2 separate regions of the Homo sapiens genome follow, and region 2 is linked to region 1. The links are contacts of gene promoters, found by promoter capture Hi-C in human tissues and cell types (Jung and others, 2019). All regions are on one chromosome and are shown on one strand. Each heading gives the region's core, a stretch centred on a gene start or on the middle of the fragment in contact. The rest is flanking DNA. Distances are from core to core; before and after follow the strand shown.

What was found. Contacts are between HindIII fragments. The study calls those that stand out against the background at their distance.
Region 2: a contact is called between a fragment that was not itself captured here and the fragment with the promoter of ESRP1 in region 1, in 1 of the 25 tissues and cell types used here (small bowel).

Annotation. Positions count from the first base shown.
Region 1 is chr8:94,639,197-94,645,364 of GRCh38, forward strand. It overlaps ESRP1 (epithelial splicing regulatory protein 1), which reads left to right and starts at 1,978. Exons shown (of 16, transcript NM_017697.4): 1 at 1,978-2,254; 2 at 2,760-2,888; 3 at 4,107-4,220. The coding sequence starts at 2,123. It overlaps LINC02894 (long intergenic non-protein coding RNA 2894), which reads right to left and starts at 271. Exons shown (of 1, transcript NR_034034.1): 1 at 1-271. RefSeq lists an enhancer at 3,316-3,405. The HindIII fragment of the contact is 5,400 bases long and covers 660-6,059 here.
Region 2 is chr8:94,788,691-94,795,242 of GRCh38, forward strand. It overlaps DPY19L4 (dpy-19 like 4), which reads left to right. Exons shown (of 19, transcript NM_181787.3): 19 at 1,056-5,146. The coding sequence ends at 1,220. Among named protein-coding and RNA genes, the nearest start is that of INTS8, 31 kb to the right of the region's middle. The HindIII fragment of the contact is 8,042 bases long and covers 1-6,552 here.

The sequences.
Region 1 (6,168 bases), core at 728-3,227:
CCCTGCCTCGTTCCGCGCCCAGTCCCTGCCCCCGCGACGCCCGAGGGCCTGGACGGGTAGCTCGGAGTTACCGGGGCTGGGGAGGAGCGAGGCTACTGCAGTAAGCCAGCCGGAACCCATTTATGACTCCGCACTCTGAAGTTCAGGACAGGGAAGCACCCACCTCTGGAACTCAAGCAGTGGACGAGGGAGGTCCCGAGCGCCGTCGCAGCGCTGCGAGTGTGGGACCCTGGCCTTCGCCCGCTCTCAGGGGACGAGAGCTGCCACCTGTATCACGGGAGGCCCCGCCTCCGCCTGCACCTTCTCCTACCAGGAAACGAGACGGCGCGGGCCTCGGGCTCCTCTCCCCCCTCCCGGGAGCTGAACCCCCACTGGGAAAGCCAGGTCTCCAGCTTCCCTTGACACGCGTCTTGAAAGGTTACCGGATTTGTACCCGGAGTGGGTTCTGCAGGGATAGGTGCATGGTTGCCCGTTTCACATCATGAATATGAACGGGGCTGGACACCTAGAGCCGAATTATTAATACTTCAGACAGAATTCTGTTCCCAAGAACAAATCGCTTTGAGATATAAAACCCGAGAAAACTTCACCTCTGGCGCTTTTCTCTCTAAAATGTCAACAAGACCCAACAACATACTGCCACCGATCTGGTGGCTGGGGGGTGATGGTTGGGGTACGAGCCTCTGGGCAGACCAAGCTGAGGTGGAGCAGGGAGGTTGTTTGGGAGCTTGGTCAAGTCAACACACTCCAATACAATGCCAAAAGCATGAGCAGAGGGAATGGGGTCAGGGCGCAGAACCTGGGAAAAAGCCTGCGTGGCCCGATTTAAGAAAATTTTTATTAGGCATGCGGATAGATGCTTTTCATTTGGGGCCCAAGGCAAATAAAAGGAAATGGGCCCCAGCTCTGGAGGATGTTCCAGCTTCGAACTAGCAGCCAGGACCAAACCAGACATAGCATTCAGAGTTGACAGAAAAAGAAGCGGGCTCCATTGTGCCTGAGTTTCCTTGCGGGGTCCCCCAGCTGCTTTGCGCGCGATAACTGCGTCCTGGGGAGTGACTAGGTGGTTGGGCGTCCAGCCCCTGGCGTCCGGCTCTGCCGCGCGCGGGGTTCCTCTCCGGAAGGTGGGCAGCGCGGCGGGTTTGGGACGAGCGTGCACCCGGGCTCCGGCCCGGAGAAGGGGGGGCTCGCAGGATTTCTCCTGCTGTTTGCACTGAAAGTTGTGTTGGCTCAGGAGCTGCTTTTCCGGGGATCTGCAGTTGCCCCCGCCACCTCCTGGCTGCGGTTGGCAGGTCCCTCCCTCAGCAGTTCGTCCTCCGCCTGCGCCGCGCCCTGGGCAGCTCCGCGCCCCGGGCCTCACCTCTGGCCTCCTTTCGCCTCCCTGCACCTGGCCTTTTCGCTTGACCGTTCAGAACCTTCGGCTTCGTTCCCTGCAGCCGGTATTCTCCGAGCCCCCCTGCACCTCTCAGTTACCTCCAGTGGGAACCCCTCCCCCCAGCGACTCCGAGCCCTTTACCTCTCTGAGCCCTTTCCCCGTCTGGCCTCGTCTACCCTCTGGGTGTCAACCGCCTCTTCCCTGCCCCTCACGTCTCCCCCTCCTCCTCCCCTGCCCTCGCCTCTCCATTCATCCAGCCATTGTCTCCCGCCCCTTCCTCCCCCTCCCGAAGCGGCCTCCTCCCCCACCGCTGCCACGTCGTGGTTTGAAGGAGCCAATGGGCCGGCGCCGCCAGGTGTCTCTTACCTGCACCACGTGGGGGAGGGGGAAGGGGCGGGCAGGTAAAGCCACATCCCAAAACAGAAAAGCTTTCAGCCATTGCGTGCCTCCCGGGGGGGGCAGCCTTGCTCCAGGCTTTTTGCATAGACGCCCGGGCAACTGAATACAAAAAGGGCAGGCCTCCTGCGCCCTCCTTCCCACCCCCCTTCCTGCCCTGGGCGTGGAGCACCGACCAGGTGTGGGCTTGGGTGGTTGGTTACCGCCTTTTGCACTAGCAGTAGCAAGGAAGGGGGGTGGGCGCTCTTTCTTTTTCTCTTAGAAGAGGGTTTAGCACAGGTTTTTTCGTTCTCACTTCCACACCACCTTACCGCCTCCCGACCCCCCCTCTCCCCCTCCCCACCTATCGTCATGACGGCCTCTCCGGATTACTTGGTGGTGCTTTTTGGGATCACTGCTGGGGCCACCGGGGCCAAGCTAGGCTCGGATGAGAAGGAGTTGATCCTGCTGTTCTGGAAAGTCGTGGATCTGGCCAACAAGAAGGTATTTCTCCACATTTTCGTCTAAATGCAAGGAATGGGGCAAGAAGTTTGTGGTAGAGGTTTGGGCGGGGAGGGGGGTGGAGGTAAGTAAATAAGTGCTCTTGTTTGCCCACTTGTGAGTCTGGACCCGAGGCCTAGGGAAGCTAGAGTAAAACCAAACTTATTGGCCAACTGCCTTGGAGCCATTTCAGTCCTCCGCAACTTAGCTCAGGTGGAGAGGCCGGCGCTACCGAGCCGGGTTCTTTGCCCGTCGGGGGACGCTCCGCCGAGACGAGGTGGGGTCTCGGAGGCCCCGGGGTCCACTTCCAGGGCTTTTCCGACCTATCGGGTGGGGGGTGGGGCGGGGGGCAGGAACGCACCGGAACCGATGGCGAGTCGAGAGCTTTGATTCTGCGTCCGGACCCCAAGAGAGGCGCGGGCCGCCCCAGCAGGGGAGCGAGGGAGGAGGGTGCAGAAAGAGGCTCCGAAATTGGGGGAAACTGACCCGTGCTTCTCTACCTTCGGAGGTGGGACAGTTGCACGAAGTGCTAGTTAGACCGGATCAGTTGGAACTGACGGAGGACTGCAAAGAAGAAACTAAAATAGACGTCGAAAGCCTGTCCTCGGCGTCGCAGCTGGACCAAGCCCTCCGACAGGTGACAACCCCGGGTCACGCCACCCACCCCAGCCTGGGCCCAACCCCACCGCACCCTACGCCCTCTCAGGGCGGCCCACGCGTGTTCCCGGAGCAGGGTGGCGAGACGCCTGCCCGGCCGCGTGGGTGGGAGCCCAGCCTGAGGGCCGGGGCGCACCGTTTGGGCGGGGGTCGCTGCTTCTCTTCATCTCCCAGCCCCCAGGGTTTGGGACCGACATTCACTAGTTTTCGAGTTGCTTCCTGAGTAGTTACTGGAGCCGGAGAGTCAGCTCCATTTTGCCAATTGATTGACGTGCGGAGTTTGAATCCTAGCGCCCCCATCTCCAGGTCCAGACCCCAGACGCGCCGCTCCCCTGCGGGGTTTGGGCCCACAGCCTTCGGGCAGGGGGCGCTGTGGCGTAGACGTGCAGGTGGGCCCGGCGGGTGTGCAAGAAGTAGCACTGTGGGTTGGAACCTGAAGGTGCCTGCCTGGTTTCAGGCTTCTGAACTCCCAACGAAAGGCTCGGTCCGTCATTATTTCTTTAGTGGCCTTGGTCCCACTGCCAGGGAGGTTTTTCAGGTCCGAACGTGCAAGGCTGCCCGTTGTGTCACTGCGGAACTGATGGAATCCCCTTATTAGGACTGAGGTGACCTAAAAACCGGCTGTTCCGGGGTGCTGACGGGTGCCGGATCGGGTAGGGCGGGGCGCTAAACACCTGTGCACAGATGAATGCTCTGCGTTCTCACGACCTCTGCCCTAGCACACGAGCTTCGAGTTATAGGAGAAAGCTATCCTTCCTGGGGTGTATTCATCCAAGACTTTCCAGATCTGTATACCCAATACCCGTATTTGTTTATTAGAAGCTGGCATCTTTCTTAAGCCTGGCACATCCAAACATATAAAAAGTAACACTAGGGAATGATGTAATCTGCAGGCAACCTGCTGATGAAATGAGACATCTGACTTAAGTCTTGAATGAATTTTTTTTGTAAAAACAGAAGGGAGAATGCATTGACAAGTTTCTCCTGGGCGCGAACTGCGGATTGATTGGAAAGCTTCCCTACCTCGAGGAAGCTAGACGGTTCGTGGGAAAGGAGTCTGTCCAAGGTTGCCCCAGCACCGGTGTCACCCATCAGGGCCCTTATTGCGGTTTTCTCTGGCTATCACCAAGGGGAGCTACTTTGCAGAGTTTGTAAATCGTGCATCAGTTGCATCCCTATGTGTATCTTGTTCTTGCAGTTTAACCAGTCAGTGAGCAATGAACTGAATATTGGAGTAGGGACTTCCTTCTGTCTCTGTACTGATGGGCAGCTTCATGTCAGGCAAATCCTGCATCCTGAGGCTTCCAAGAAGGTAAGAGTGCTGGCTTCTGGGAAAAAAATGGTTGGAGCTTTGGGGTGACTGGAGGTTTTTAAAAATTTTTGGTTTATTCAAGTTTCTCTGTTCTTAAAAAGATGCATATAGGGAGTTATTTAATGAGTACAGAATTTCAGTTTGGGAAGATGAAAAAGCTCTGGAAATGGATGGTGTTTATGGTTGCAAAATATGTTAATGTACTTAATGTTTTACTGAACCATACTCTTAAAAATTATTAAAATGGTAAATTTGGTGTTATGTATATACAAAGATACTCTTTGGTGACTTAAAATAGTCTCTTTGTTTACGTCCAATTTTCAAGATGCATGACACTTCCCTTTTCCGAAGCTAATACAGAGTGTGAATTTTTGACATTTAAAATAACTACAAAGAGAGGAAAGAACTATTCTTTAGTATGTCATAATATCCTCATTTGTGTTGGAAATGCTATATCCTAGAAAGGAAGGAAAAAAGAATTAAACATTTAAAGTTGTATTTCTAATCATTTCATTAAAAAGGCTACTTAAATAAGATAACCTTATATCTAGTGAAACCACAATCGTAGCACTCTTCACTTTGTCTGATTTTAAGTCAATGTTCAAAACATTCTTGCATCAAAACAAAAGGGTCAGCCTCATCTTTTACCTTTGCTCATTTTTCTGACAGAGAGAGGATTACAGAGTGAGAGAAATACAGTCTTACTATAGGTAAAATGTGATTTCTCTCCCTGGGATAAATACTGAGGGGCTGTGGGAAAAGGAACAGCAGAGACAACCCACCCAGTGTAGCCAATCATTGTTAATACACTGTCTCTTAACAACTTAAATTAGTTTGAGCTGTAACTTTTTATTGTGGTAGGCAGGCACCGAGCTTGAAAAGATGGAAGTAGAATATATTTAGGTACCTGTATAAGGCAAGGCTTGCAATGAAAGATGTAGACTGACAAATGACGACCCAGGCAAGTAAGTGCAGATTTTATTTCGTTTAATATATTATGACAATTCAAAAAGTTTGAAGGAGTAACTCAAGTTGTTATGTCTTCAGAAAATCATTCCTTTTATACGAGTCTTAGTAATTATTTGACAAAAGGGGAAGAATTTTTTTAAAAAATTAAATGCTAGACTAGTCGCTACATCCTTACCAGAAATAGTAATATGTAAGGATTACTTTTTTACTCCCAAACTCACATGACGGAAGGACAAGACTTAATCTTTTCCCTGTTGGGCCAGAGGAAAATAGCTGTTTTCATTATTTAGGTGGAGTGCTTTGGGTGTAGGAAAACATCTGGAGAAAAATTAAGACTTTTTCCTCAGCCACAGCTATTAGAATTTTGATTAAATACAGAAACTAAAACAATTAATGTTATAGTGAAAGTAATTCTGTATATTCGTTAAAGAAAAGGGAAAATGGCAAAACATGAAATAATCCTGCCACTCAATATATTAAAATGTTTTTCTCTAACATGAATGTATTTGGATATATTCTTCTAGATTTCTGTAGACAAGCATTATTTACAAAGAGCATTCATACGGCGTAAGCCTTTTAGCCTACATTATTTAATAGAACATCAACATTGTTATAACCACTAAATAAAATACTCAGTATTTTAAATGGACACAACAATTTAAACTGATTATTGTTGAACATGTGAGTTATTGTCCTTACAAATAGCTTTTAAATGAGCATTTTTGTAGGTAATAGGGAGGTTTCATGGTTCTTTTGGTTGTTAACTTTTTTAAAAGCTGTGACCATGATGCAGCAATACTGATTTCAAAATACAGCATGAACAGGTCACATCTAGTAAAATCCAATAGAAGGAACTTGGAGAGGAGATATTTTGCATGAACATTTAACATTTAAAAGTCTTAATTTCCTTGATGTTCTAATGTAAAAATGGGTAAAAATTCCCAGCAAATTAACACAATTTCAAAATTTTAAGAAAAAT
Region 2 (6,552 bases), core at 1,991-4,490, 150 kb after region 1:
AGGCAGTGTGTATATCTGAGACTTAATGCTAGCTGGAATGGATTCTTGACTCCTGAGAAAGCTGGGAGTGAGGGATCATAAGAAAAGTTTAGTAAGTCATTGTAAGTGGTAGTAGATATACTATTCAGGTTGCAGCCAAGATTTTTTCTGTCTTTTCCTAAATAATCATAGCTCTTTGTCTTATCCAAGATCAGTTTGGAGGTAAGAAATTACTTTTTGTGATTTCTACTTATCTTTTCCTCATGACCCCTTAATCTTGTAATATAAACTTACTCTGTTTTATGGTACATGTATTTTGAATTTCTCTGTTGGTACTTAGTGGCTGTGATCTTTGGTTTACTGGTGACACAAATGGAATTTTATGAAGCCTCGGGTACAGTTTCAGTAATTGGTGCTGTCTTGCTATCTGCTCTCTGAAGCCTTTCTATTCTGCTCTGATACCCACTTTTCTGCTGTTTTGAAGATCAGCTTACTTCTCCTTTCATGTCATGCCTGGCATGGACTTAAGCTAATCCATCCTTTTAAAGTTGGCTATCTGACATCTTTCATAGCCATTAAAATATTACTTAATTTTTTTTATAAAAACTTCTTCAAGCTAACTAAGCTATCTTAGTGAACATCATTCGGTGAAATTGTAAAGGTCTGCACTAAGTCACGAAAGTTTCCTTGCTTACTAAATAATTCTACACGAGAAGAGTGAATATATTTAGGAATATAATATGTTCATTTCTCAGCCTTGGTAGGGTGCATGATAAGGTCTTCGGAGCGATGATAATGGATTATGGAAACACTGCCTTCTAAATTTTAGGATTAAATCTTTTAAAAATTGGAAACCTTTGTGCTGGTTTCTCAGTGTCAATGAGAAGTTCAGGAGTATAGTGGGCATGGTGACTCACTTATGAAGAAGGCTTCTATTTGCTAACAGTGAGATGTTTTATAGACAATGTTTAGCAATAATGTGTTTTTTCATATAAATATACTCATTTGTATATTGATTGCATTTCTGCTATAAGCTTAATAAGCTTTTTAATATTATGTTTTATATCTTTTAATAGATGGTTTGTGAAGAAGGTGACAAGCTAACCTACTCAAAATATGGGCGATTTTGTCATGAGGTCAAAATTAACTATTCTCCATATGTGAATTATTTCACTAGAGTATACTGGAACAGATCCTACTTTGTATATAAAATCAACACTGTGATATCCTTCCAGTCTTGAAAAATAACAGAGCCTTCATTTCAAAGACTACCTGAAGTAAAATGCAGTTTTCTTCTACCTACTCGGTGTCTTTTGCAGATCAGAGTATGGACATTTGAAATATTGCTGCTTCTTTCCCCCTTCTGCTGTTAACTGGATCCAGAGTTCTGTGGGAAATAGAAGATCAAGCATTACTGTCCTTTGATTAAATGTGATATCTACCACTCTGCAATATTCCAGACAGGTGTCTTCCTTACCGTTACATGGTCTTTAACACTTTTACTGATTGCAATATTTTCCCCATAAAATCTTCATTCTATTATAATATTGATCTTGAATTTGAATATGTGCAAGGTCAGATACATTTCTCAAACATAACATTTAATAAATAATGTGATATAATTATTTAATAGAAAGAATAATTCCGACCTTCAAGCAAGTTTCTGAAGGTATTTTATGATGTATAACAACTGAAGTTTTACAATAAAAACTAATTTAAATGTTAGCTGAAGATATGTGGCATTTAAATTAAAATGGAAATTATATAAAGGAAAGTGATTTTTAAGGATATACATAAAGATATATTTAGAATTTTCATGATACTGTTCTCCTCATCTACTGCTTATGTTAAGTGAGAACTTTCTTAGTAATACATAATGCATGATGTTACTGCATTTTCTAAATGACTAGTAAGTGATTAGTTTTTTCACTTATGCCTATTAATTTGATACCAATTTAATCATGATAAAACAATAACCGTTAACATATATTTTGTTAAATGGACATTTAAAAGAATGTTGTTCAGGTTTTTTTTTTAAATACTGATATGGGGCATACAATCTATTCACATGTTTTCTACTGAAGTACTAAGTAAAAAAATTAAATCATTATCAGAATAAAAATATGTGTTCTAAAATTAGCAACAATTTCTGGGGATACATGCAGATGTTGTTAAACGTACCTCTGCATACAGATATATTATAAAACACAAGCAATGTTATTTATGAAACTGTGATGCAGTCTTCAACATCAAGAAAAAATGACAACTATAATAAAATTTACAACACAGTTTCACAGTCTAAATGCTATGTTCCTTTAAGTATTTTCATATTTTTAATCATTTATTAAGAGAAAATTGTGAAAAGTTAATTTGGCCTTATAGAGAGATTCAGGATAGATGTAGCCTATAGATGTGTCATTTTAATAAGTTGGGATACATGTTTAGTTTTTCCTTATATTCCTGTTCAGTGAACAGATTTTCATAATTCTCACTTGTTAAAGTGCTGCAAAAATTGCATTTTCAGTACTCTAAATTACTACATTAGAAGAGAGCATTTCTCCATTGTCTTTATTTTCTGTTATATATGTGTTGTAAAAGTACACTACATTAGAAGGGAGCTTTTCCGTTGTCTTTATTTTCTGTTATACATGTGTTGTTAAAGTACATGCATTCTTAGACTAACTCTCAGATGCTTTGCTCTTTTGGAGCTGAAGAATTGTTTGATGGTGATGTCATATATCTGATAGATTAGTTTCAGTGGTTCTCATTTCACTTTTATACGTAATTTCTTAACTATATTAAGATAGTTGCAGGCAGTGTACCTCAGGTTGACTCTGTACATCTGAATAGTGAGTCACTAGTATTTTGCTTCAAGCCTTCTGAAAATATAACCATAGTTACCTAAGCACACAGTGAATAGTCACATGGTAGTACTTGTGATTAGAGCATGTAAAACAATGTAATTGAAAAGTCAGCTTCCATATTTTGTAGGGGAAATAGAACACCCTACTTTTTATCTAGTGTGAAATATTTAATCGAATTTTTGTTGATTTATATTATGTTACCTGTGCTGAATTAGGTTTGGTACTTGTGTTTTGTTTGACATATTAGTAAGTTGCTTTTGCTTCTTTCTGTCAACTTATTTTTTAAATAAAATTGATCTGGAAAAATTGTTAATGGGATGTTTTAAATAATGAATTTTTCATCCAGCATCAGTTGAAAAGGAAAAGAAAGCTTCATTATGGAAATGACAATATTGAATATGACAGATAAGTTTATTTGCTTCTGTTTTAACTGCAGTTAATAGTACTAGACAACTTTAAGTGGAAAGCATTTAGTTTATTTCTTCACTTATTTGTAGAGTGAACAAATGATTCACAATTCTACAAGTAATTCCACTTAGGTAACTTACAGTTGTTAGGTTTGACAATAAAGATCTACTATGAGAGGAGAAGAATTTATGGGTTTTGGGTGGAAGGAATTTCTCAAAGAAATAAAAAATGTTCTTTGCCCTTGATACTGCAAACCCACTGATACAAGTGCCTTGAATTTATTATTATTATTATTTTTTATTTTTTTGAGATGGAGTTTCACTCTTGTCTCCCAGGCTGGAGTGCAATGGCGCGATCTTGGCTCACTGCAACCTCCGCTCGCTGCAACCTCCGCCTCCCAGGTTCAAGTGATTCTCCTGCCTCAGCCTCCGGAGTAGCTGGGATTACAGGCACCTGCCACCAAGCACGGCTAATTTTTGTATTTTTAGTAGAAACGGGGTTTCGCCATGTTGGCCAGGCTGGTCTCGAACTCCTGACCTCAGATGATCCACTCACCCCAGCCTCCCAAAGTGCTGGGATTACAGACGTGAGCCACTGCGCCCGGCGCAAGTCTTTGTTAAAAGTAGAGATGGAGGCCAGGCGCAGTGGCTCACTCCTGTAATCCCAGCACTTTGGGAGGCTGAGGCAGGCAGATCACGAGGTCAGGAGATCGAGACCATCTTGGCTAACACGGTGAAACCCCGTCTCTACTGAAAATACAAAAAATTAGCCGGGCAGGGTGGCGGGCGCCTGTAGTCCCAGCTACTCCGAGGCTGAAGCAGGAGAATGGCGTCAAGCGGCGAGGCGGAGCTTGCGGTGAGCCGAGATCATGCCGCTGCACTCCAGCCTGGGCAACAGAGCAAGACTCCATCTCAAAAAGAAAAAAAAAGTAGAGATGGGATCTCTAGCCTCCTAAGTTAATTTAGCCTCCCAAATGCCAGACAAAGAATCTAACATAAAATTTACCTTGAATAAGATATATGATATTGATTCTGAGCTGCTTTGTATTTTTTCTGACTTTGGCATCTGTATCTTGGTGCTTTCTGTTAGACTGGTAGAGTTTAAGAACCTAAGGAGTATGCATTGTACTTCAGTGCTAACTTTTTTCTTCATTTACTTTCTGTGTATATAGGCAGCATATTTTTTTTGTAGAACATTAACCCAGATTGCTAATAGCTTCATGTTACGGCATTCTTCCACACAGTCCAGATTGATTTAAGGAAAAGCAGAAATGGAAGTCAAAGTGTGTTATAAATTGAGACTGAAAAACATGCTTTAAAAAATAGATTTAATTTCTTACACTGTGAATAGCCATTGTATTGTTTTGTTTCTGATAAATCAGTTGTTTTGGGCCCCTATTTTTGAACTGTTAAAAAATTTTGATGCTTTTCGTGGATAAAAGTAGTGCCTCTCTTTATACAACTGATGGGGTTTTAAAAAGTGTAAATTGCCTTTTTTGTTAAACTTATTTTAAATGCTTTAGTATTTAAAGGGTGTATGTTATTAATTAATCTGCATATTTGTAACGCAAATAACTACTTCCTGATTTACATCTCAATATATTCTTCTTTCATTTGCCCAATTTAAAAAATACGTAGTCTCTATTGTTGCTGTTTACTAATAGTTTTAGATCCCAATGTGTATTAGAATTATAGCTACAAAAAGTTGCAAGTAAAATTTAGCAATTTCCTATTCAAACAGGATCTCATTAGTATGTTTTTTAATGTGTAGAATTAACACTTTAAAATAAACAGGTGTGAAAATTATAAAGGAATATATATGACAATTATTTTCTGTACATTAATGTCTAAACATTATACTTACTTTTTCATAATAAAGGAAATTTTGGAACCAAATTTGCTGAGTTTAGCATAAAGGCGTCTTTGAATTATTTCTGAGTTTCCTAAAATGTGCAACATTTTAATCTTGGCATATCTAATCCTATGTGCTGTTCTGTAAGAGGTACACTGGACTTCTAACCACTATATGTATTTAGTAGAATAATGGTATCACAAAGGAACAAGAATTCCAAACTTATAGTTTGAAATGTCTCATAAACAACCCTTTCGTATTTTAAGTTAGTAGCTTTGTATAGCTATTTAACACAGATGAGTATAGTTAGCTTTATATATATTATCCTCTGAGTCTTATCTGTGACAATGTGTATTTAGATTAAATATGTTCCTCCTGTAACTAAAGTTGCATCTTTGCAAAGGATCAAAGTTCATTTCAGCAGACACAAATTCTTTGAAAGATTTGGGCTATAAACTAACACTTCAAATTTTGTAATAATCAATATACTTTTATCAAGAAGGAAATTATTTCATGCTTAATTACCCTCCTTATTTTGTTTCCATAATAAAACTATTTTCAGAATTTTAAGTTATTTTATTTATACATGAGCTTTTTTGGTGACAGCTTCGCTGAGATATAATTCATATACCGTACAATTCACCCGTTTAAAATGTATAATTCAGCCGGGTGCAGTGGCTCATGCCCGTAATCCCAACACTTTGGGAGGCTAAGGTGGGCAGATTGCTTGAACCCAAGAGTTTGAGACCAGCCTGGGCAACATGGAGAAACCCCATCTCTACAAAAAAATACAAAAATGTAGCCGGACGTGGTGGCGCACACCCGTAGTCCCAGCTACCTGGGAGGCTGAGGCAGGAGGATCACTTAGGTCAGGGAGGTGGAGGTTGCAGTGAACTGTGATCACACCACTGCACTCCAGCTTGGATGACAGAGGGAGACCCTGTCTCAATAAATAAATAAATAAAAATAAAATATACAATTCAGTGGTTTTTAGTACGTTCATAGAGCTATGCAGTTATCACCACAATCAATTTTAACACATTTTTATTACTCCCAAAAGAAACCTCATACCCTTCTGGCTGTCAACCCAATCATTCTGTCCTCCCTAGCCCTAGGCAACCACTACTAATCTATTTTCTATCTCTATGTTTGCCTGTTCTGGACATTTCATATAAATTGAATCATACAACATGCTTCTTTCACTTGGAATCTTTTTAAGGTTCATCCATGTTGTTCCATGTATCATTCATTCATTTTTAGTGCCAGGTAATATTCCACTGTATGTATTTACCACATTTTATCCATTCATTAGTTGATAGACATTTGTGTTGTTTCTACTTTTTAGTTATTATGAATAATGCTGATAGGATTATCTGTATACAGGTTTTTGTGTGGGCATATGTTCGTTTCTCTTAGGTATATATCTAGGAGTTAAATTGCCGGGTCATAT